3 separate regions of the Homo sapiens genome follow, and regions 1 and 2 are each linked to region 3. The links are contacts of gene promoters, found by promoter capture Hi-C in blood cells and fetal thymus (Javierre and others, 2016). All regions are on one chromosome and are shown on one strand. The core of a region is centred on a gene start or on the middle of the fragment in contact, and the rest is flanking DNA. Distances in the headings are between cores, read along the strand shown.

The links. The method cuts DNA at HindIII sites, captures the fragments that hold promoters and counts their contacts. A CHiCAGO score of 5 or more calls a contact.
Region 1: a fragment that was not itself captured here is called in contact with the fragment with the promoter of FAIM in region 3 in 1 of 17 cell types (total B cells); the score reaches 5.4 in total B cells.
Region 2: a contact is called between a fragment that was not itself captured here and the fragment with the promoter of FAIM in region 3, in 2 of 17 cell types (total CD4 T cells and naive CD8 T cells). The highest score is 6.2, in total CD4 T cells.

What each region holds. Positions count from the first base shown.
Region 1 is chr3:140,954,728-140,957,427 of GRCh38, forward strand. SLC25A36 (solute carrier family 25 member 36) reads left to right here. Exons shown (of 7, transcript NM_001104647.3): 2 at 1,800-1,964. Among named protein-coding and RNA genes, the nearest start is that of SLC25A36, 14 kb to the left of the region's middle. The HindIII fragment of the contact is 5,297 bases long and covers 1-2,700 here.
Region 2 is chr3:140,929,473-140,932,172 of GRCh38, forward strand. No RefSeq gene overlaps it. Among named protein-coding and RNA genes, the nearest start is that of SLC25A36, 11 kb to the right of the region's middle. The HindIII fragment of the contact is 1,926 bases long and covers 361-2,286 here.
Region 3 is chr3:138,607,503-138,610,202 of GRCh38, forward strand. It overlaps FAIM (Fas apoptotic inhibitory molecule), which reads left to right and starts at 1,269. Exons shown (of 6, transcript NM_001033031.2): 1 at 1,269-1,435. RefSeq lists a silencer at 1,357-1,816 and an enhancer at 1,917-2,006. The HindIII fragment of the contact is 4,797 bases long and covers 1-2,700 here.

The DNA.
Region 1 (2,700 bases), core at 134-2,633, 2.3 Mb after region 3:
TTTGCAGGTAATGATTTGTAAATATTTGTTCTCAGTCTATGGCTTTCATTTTCTTCTCAGTTTCTTTCATTGTGTTAGCAGTTTCTTTCAGAGTAGAAGTTTTTAGTTTTGATAAGGTCCAGTTTTTCAGTTTTTTTCTTTAATGATTTGTGCTTCTTTTGATGTCCATATAAGAAGTCTGTGCCTAACGCAAAGTTAAAAGATTTTTTTCCAGATGTTTTTTTCCTAGATGTTTTATAGTTTCATCATTTTAAACTTAGGTCTGTGATCCATTTCGAGTTAATTTTAAAATGTACTGTGAGGTAAGGGGCATGTTTTTTATTTTACATATAATGTTCTTTATTTTTTAATAGTTTTGTTGCATAAGTTTTTCACTCTAGTTGCATACAGTTTGGTTTTATCTTATTTTCTTTGTGGCATATACTAATACACCAATATGACATATTTTTATCTTTTAAAATTTCTTTTACATTCTATTCGGAGTGATATTAACATTGCCATGCCTGCTTTCCTTTATATATATGTGTGTGTGTTTTTTTTATTGTGGAGGTAGAATTGTTTAGTGTATTATTGCATGGGTTGCTTTTCTTTTTCTTCTTTTAATGCCCATTTTGAAGGTCCACGTTAACCTGACTCAACTAGCTTTTCTCTTTCACCGCACTAAGAGCTTTTCTGAGTGATTTTCCCTTTTGGTTAGAAAGCAGTTCTAAAGGCTTCACTTGGTAGTTATTAATGTTTTAAGAGGAAATTATTTTCTACTCTTGTATTTTAAAATAAGAAAATAATAATTACTCAGCCTATATCTTACATACCTTTTAAACAGTTCAATGTCATTAAGAGCTTTTGTTATTATTGTTCTGGTGATCAGTCCTTTTATTTAAGTTGGATTCTTCTAACAAGCCTACCTACATTGTACAGTTTTCCACGTGTAGGCCTGACAGGTATTAATTGTGAGACTCAAATGCCAATTTTTTTTCTTTTTTGAGACAGGGTCTCACTCTGTTGCCCAGGCTAGAGTGCAGTGGCCTGATCATATTCACTGTAGCCCTGAACTCCTATGCTCACACAGTTTTCCCACCTCAGCCTCCCGAGTAGCCAGGACTACATGCATGCCCCACCACACCTGGCTAATTTTTTAAACAAATTTTTTGTAAAGTGGTGTCTGGCTATGTTGCCCAGGCTGATGTCAAACTGGCCTCAAACCATCCTCTTGTCTCCTCCCAAAGCTCTGGGATTACATGTGTGAGCCATGCGCCCAGCCCTCAAATGCTGTATTTTTTTGTAGGTGAAATACTTCTGAATATTTGGGGATTTAAAATAAGAGAACTATGTATGGTTAACTATCAGTGAGTTCTTCCTTATTGTTCAGAAGACCATTTCTTCAGTTTGAAAGGACAGGAGTTTGAAAGATAGGATATACTTCAAAGAATGGCCTAGATTTTAACAGAGCCACAAGTTATATATATACATGAGTACTAAATCAAACCTTAGGACAGTATTTAAAGCCATTATGTGACTTACCAGTACAATTTTAGTAACAGCACCTATCAGTTGAAGTGTTTAGCAGTTATTCTTGCCAGATAGTTACTAAGCTGTGTTCATTTTAGTTACTGAAGAAGTTTGTATGAAATCAAATAATGGAATCTCTTAAAAATCAGTTTAGTCATCTAACATTAAAAATTATAAATTTTAGTATGTTGGCAAAGCTCCAGGTACCCATGTGGATTACAGCTCTGGGCATATATACTAACTTATGAATTAAGTAGATAAGCTGTGTTCTTTTTTTTTTTTTTTTTTAGATGTGGTGGTACAGTGGGAGCTATTCTGACATGTCCACTGGAAGTTGTAAAAACACGACTGCAGTCATCTTCTGTGACGCTTTATATTTCTGAAGTTCAGCTGAACACCATGGCTGGAGCCAGTGTCAACCGAGTAGTGTCTCCCGGACCTCTTCATTGCCTAAAGTGAGAGCATAGTATTCAGGAGTGTTTTTTAGTTTGTTTGCGTTAGTGAGTTCCAGATGTTTGTTTACTTATATTCTGCCACATTGAAAATGATTTTTTATAAACCTATTTACAGAAGTTACTCTGAATTGTACTCATAAGGAATGATAATCCCTAATGGAGAAGAACAGTTAGACAGATAAGATAAAGTGTAATTTTACTTCCAAATCATGTGTATTTAGAATATTTCTACATTTATCCAGTGGAGTTTTTTCTAAAGCTATTATAAGTATTTTATTTTGGATTATTCATTTACTTTTGAAATGTGATAATGTTTAATGCTAACTCCTTTCGTGTATATTTTTAATGTTCCAAGTAAGTACATCCAATTAATGATAATCTGTGATTTTTATGTAACCTAAGTACAACTGAGACAGCAGAGTTCTAATGCTGTTCAGTATTTGTTTAACATTTCCTGATGGTTTGGAAAAGATTTGTTTTTACAGTTTGCCATACTTCATTATGTTGCAATTGGATTTGAAATTTCAAAACTATTAAAATTAGGTTTCGTATGTTTATACTTGTAAATAATGGAATGCCTTCGTGTCTGCCTTATCAGCTCAGTGTTTGAACTTAGTTCAGTAGTGTTTATTTTGTAATAGCAAATAAACTCATTCTGTGTATTTACCTTTGTTACTAAAAGGTTTCATCAGCCTTTTCTTTTTTCAAACTTGTTTACATAAGTACATGAATAGGT
Region 2 (2,700 bases), core at 74-2,573, 2.3 Mb after region 3:
ACAAGGAGTTAATGTTAAAAGCAAGATCTAAATGCCAACATGGAAGCTGAGTTTCAAAGCAGTGGCTCTTGATGAGGCCCCTAGATCGGTTCCTAAATGGGAAGCAGGGTACTACTCTATTACCACAGTGTTGAAGAACTAGGCATGTCCATGCAAAATAAAAAAAGTGTGTTACACCCTCTTCTCAATGAAATCTACATATTTCTTTGCAAGGCCTTCCCTGTCTTCTAATACCCTTCTCCTGAAATATAAGAAAAATCATGTTTGTTTGTTTGTTTGTTCATGGCTCCTGGGACACTGTCCTGAGAAATACAAGGAAAATGTTGATTCACTATGGGGAAAATCCCTTTTTACAAGTAAAGCTTCTTATCTAGCCCCAGTACTACTTCTGTATGCTTGCCACCATTGTATCTAAGAACCATTAAACATTATTGATTCAACCTCATTCTTGTTGGAAAAAAAAAAAGAAAAAGAAAAATTTTTGAATACACAGAGTGGCTGATAGGAGTGGCAGCTCCAAAAGGAGATTAAGTCCGCATTAGGGAACAATTGCCCTCATGACTTTTCATCTGGAGCTCAGATATAAGTGAACATTTTGTCTTCTTGGGCACCAGTTTCTCGTTGTTGGGGGTGGTGGCGGTGATTGCAGGAACTACAGCTTACATTTTCAATCAACAAAGAAAACTATTGAAATGGTGTAGAATAGAAGGCAAGAGTGTAGACTTTGGAGCCAAACTGCCCATGTTTCCATCCCAGCTCAGTGACATTCTAGCTAAGTCACCTTAACAAATTCCCTGACCTCTCAGTTTCCTCATCTGTAAAATGGCACCTCATTAGGTTGTAGAGAAGATTAAATACTGGCAAAGGGCTTGCAACAATGCCTCTAAGTGTTGTATAAATCTGAAGCACTTTGAGATAATCACCAGCTTGGCACGGAGAGTACCCAGAAAAACATTTACCCAACTGTTGGGATTCCCCTGAGGAGTGGGATTTAGGAAGAGAGGTTGATGGGAGGATTTTAATTTCTATCTCATGCACCTTTGTACTCTCTGAATTTACTAGTTTTTACTAAAAGTAAAATGAAGAAAAAAATTAAGATAGCATATGGCTAAGAGAATATGAACAAATCTCTTCCAATCTCCCACTAAAATAGTGAAGAAGACATAGAAATAAAATAAATAAGGATAAATAATAGAAATAAAATCAATAAAAATTTTAAAAAATAAGGAATTTTTTTTTGACCCTGGATGCTGACCCAGTGCTAACATTGTGCCAGGTACTGCAGGGAAGAAAAAATGTCAAGCACACTTTTTGGCTTTTCCGAAAAGCCACAGGAATTTTCTGAACCCACAAGACCAATAGAGGCCAAGGTGTAGGGGTTGGGGAGGATGACATCAGTGGTCCATCTAAGCTCTACTCCACCATAGGTATTAACAACTTTTCTTCGGCTTATTAGCAATTAAAAGTTGAGACCAGTACTAACCCGGAAATCTAGTCCCCTTTACTTCATAATGAGTTTGCTTGTTTGTTTTGAGGCTGGCATTGGGTTGAGAACACACTGATGGTGAAGATCCCTTTCTCTTTATTCAATAAGAAACTACAACTCCCAGAAGGCCCCTCAGCAGGAATAGGTGGTGGGAGGAGGTGAAGATGCATCTAATACCAAAGCGTGGTCTTAGTCCCACCCACCCTGCCCTAACGACTTTCTTCTGGAAGCATGTTTGTGCAAGGGCCACGGGCTCCAGAAACCTCACGTTTGTACTGATCTTGATGGAACCACTTGAAGAAGCATTCGAAGAAACACGAATGAGGGGGAAGGTTATAAAAGAGTGGGCAGATCACGCTTGCACCTCAGCAACTCAACCCTGGAATCCCAGCAAGGATGACGACTAAGGCAACCACACCCGAGGGGGCGGTCCCCAGGGATACCAGCCAGAATGTGCAGAGGGCAGAGTCGACTTCCACGGTGGCTTCTGAATGAGGTTCAAAAAGAACCCATCACATTAGGAACTGTCATTACACATAGAAATAACTCTTATTGCACATAAGAACTCTGGCTCCCTCCTTACCAGTTTCAGAAACTTCATTAAGTGTAATTACTATGGCATTCACTATATCAAAAACATGAGCTACAGCTATTGTCTTAAATGAAATACACCTAAAATGGTGCAGCCACTTTGGAAAAGATTGGCAGCACCCCAGAAGGTTAAACATAGGGTTATGTAACCCAGCAGTTCCACTCCTAGGTATATGCCCAAGAGAATTGAAAACATATGCCCATAATAAAGCTTGTACAAGAATGTTCATAGCAGCATTATTCATATAAACGGATAACAAACAAGCAGAAACAATCCAAAGAGCCATCAATTGAGAATGGATAAACAAAATTGATATATACATAAAATGGAATGTTATCAGTCATAAAAGGGAGTGAAGTACTGAAAAACACTGCAACATGAATGAACCTCAAAAACACTATGTTTAGTGAAAGAAATTGGATACAAAAATGCCTCATATTGTATGATTCATTTGTATGAAATGTCCAGAATAGGCAAAACCAAAGAGTTAGAAAGTAGATTAGCCAGGAGATAAAAGAGGGAAATGGAAGTGACTGCTAAAAGGTACAGGGTCAGTTTTTGGGTAAGAAAAATATTCTGGAATTAGGTAGTGGTGATGATTGCATAACCTTGAAATATACTA
Region 3 (2,700 bases), core at 19-2,518:
GGTTTCACCACGTTGGCCAGGCTGGTCTCAAACTTCTGACCTCAGGCAATCCGCACCTGGCCTCCCAGAGTGCTGGGATTACAGGTGTAAGCCACTGTGCCCGGCTGTTTTTTTTTTTTTTTTTTTTTGAGACAGAGTCTTGCTCTTCGCCCAGGCTGGAGTGCAGTGGCTCAATCTCAGCTCACTCCAACCTCCACCTCCCAGGTTGAAGCGATTCTCCTGCCTCAGCCTCCCAAGTAGTTGGGACTACAGGCATGCACCACCACGCCCCTCTAAGTTTTATATTTTCAGTAGTGACGGGGTTTTGCCATGCCTGCCTCAGCATCCCAAAGTGCTGGGATTACAGGCGTGAGCCACTGAGCCCGGCTGTTTCTTTTTGTGTGTGTTTTTTTTAATGAAACAGGGTCTCGCTCTGTTGCCCAGGCTGGAGTGTAGTGGTGCAATCACAGCTCTCTGCAGCCTCTACCTCCCTTCAGGGCCCAAGCAATTCTCCCACCTCAGCGTCCCAAGTAGCTAGGATTACAGGCCTGAGCCGCTAATTATTTTCTTTTCTTCTTTCTCATTCTCTCTCTCTCTTTTTTTTTTTTTTTACCATGTTGCCCAGGCTGGTCTTGAACTCCTGGACTCAAGAGATCCGCCACTCTGCCTCCCAAAATGCCGTGATTACAGGTATGAGCCACCACACCCAGCAATGCTGCAAGTCTTATGGGCCAGGATAGTGTAATCTAAGAAATGATATATGAAGAACTCTCACAATAGGGAAGAGGTGAGGAGTGTCCAGGCAGAGAGAAGAGCATTTGCAGAGGCCCTGGGCGAGAAGAAACCTGCATCCTTTAAGGACCTAAATGAAGCCAAGCAGGCAGAGGCTAGATCACACATGGGGGCTTCATGCCCACCTTAAGTAGTTTGGGTCTTTAAAAAAGGAATGAGACTCATAAAGAGGTTTTAAGGAGCGAATGCTATTGCTGCCATGAACAGATATTCCTTCCCCATAGCTGCAGAGCAGGCACAGGGCTGTTTTTGCCCGCCAGTATGTCCCCACCGTCTAGCCCAGAGCGGGGCCAGCGGCCGGCTCCTACCCACACTTGCTGGCAGGAAGACTGGACGCACTGCGGGACATGGTGATGTCCTGGGTTGGGGCTGAGGAAGGCCTATGCGCGGAGGGTGCGGCCTTCGGCTAAGGCAGAGGACCAGGGTTGGGTCCGTGGCGGCGGGAGGGGTGGCCTCCTGCGCTGGTCGCCCCAGGGGACCTGAGAGGCGCGACAAACAGTCGGCGCGTTTGGTACTCGCGCCTGCAGAGCTTTCAACCTCCGCGCCGGCTGCGCCTGTTTCTCGGCCAGGGGAGCAAGGCCACGCGGCCTACGCAGCCGAGTCGGAACCAACCGGTTGTTTGGTGAAACCTACCCCAGAGCCTCCCGCGGCCCACAGAGCACAGGTGAGGCAGCAGACCGGGTGGGGTCGGTGTCGCGCCTGCGCCCGCCCGGACGCCTCGGGCCCGCCCGCTCCGCACCCTGGAAACCCCTGCACTCAGCCCCCCGGCGTCCCCACGCTCTCGGCCCTGCTGCGCCGGCGGCGGCCATCTCTGGGCGGCGGCGGCGGGCGGTGTTTGCGCGGTCGGTGAGACCCGCGCGGGTGAGACGCTGGGTGAGTTCCGGACGCTTCCAGCCGGCCCGCCGGTGATCCCAGACCTCGGGGCGGGACGCGGCTCCCGCTCACCGCCGGCAAAGGTGGAGGTGCGGCGGGGCGCGGGGCGCGGGGCCAGCCCGGGGCGGTGCGGGGGCGTCCCTGCCTAGCGAGGCCCTGCCCCGCGACCTGCCGCACCCTCCTCCGGCCTGTTCGCGACCTCTAAAGATAATACTTCTCACTGTCGAAAACGTGGAACAGAAAGCAAGGAAGCAAGCAAAGCAGCCGTGCCGCTGCTCCCCAGAGACAAGCTGCGTTAACATGAGGGTGTATATTCTTCCAGATGGTTTTTCCTTGTAACATGAGCGGGGCTTGTTTTTGCAGAACCTGCATCATAAAGTGCTGAAACTCTCTCTCTCTCTCTCTCTCTCTCTCTCTCTCTCTCTCTCTCGACTCTCTCTCTCTCGACTCTCTCTCTCTCTCTCTCGACTCTCTCTCTCTCTCTCTCTCTCTCTCGACTGTACATTCCTGTGTGTCAGGTTGACTACCTCATCCATCCCTGACTCTTGGCATGGCTTTGGACTGTGATTTACTAAATGTAGTTTCTCCCTGATGGTGAGCGTACAAGTGGTTTTCAGTTTTTAGTTATTGCAAAAAGTAATTCATTGAGCATCGTTGTATCTGGGTTTTTGAGCGTGATCATTTCTGTAGAAAGAATCGCACAAGATTCGTTCTAAAACAAGATAGAATCCACGGTCTATACCACAAGGCTTCTGGTATAGATTGTGAAATGGCCCTCAGAAAAGTTATTCTCCTTTTTGTACCTCCAGTAAGTAGCATTTGGGAATACTTGGCTCGAGGAGCTTCCTGAGTGATTTTACTGGAGACCCCCCTCACTTCATAAGGGGCCGGCCCGGAGATGAAGATGTCAACACTTGAGTGTGACTTGCATTATTGGCTGGCCCTACCTGGGGGCCTTTGCTGAAAAGGGAACCATGAGCATCTTAGTAACTACTATCATCTAGTAATTTTTAAACTGACTTCGGTTTATCTTGAACGAACCATTTCAGTCCCCAG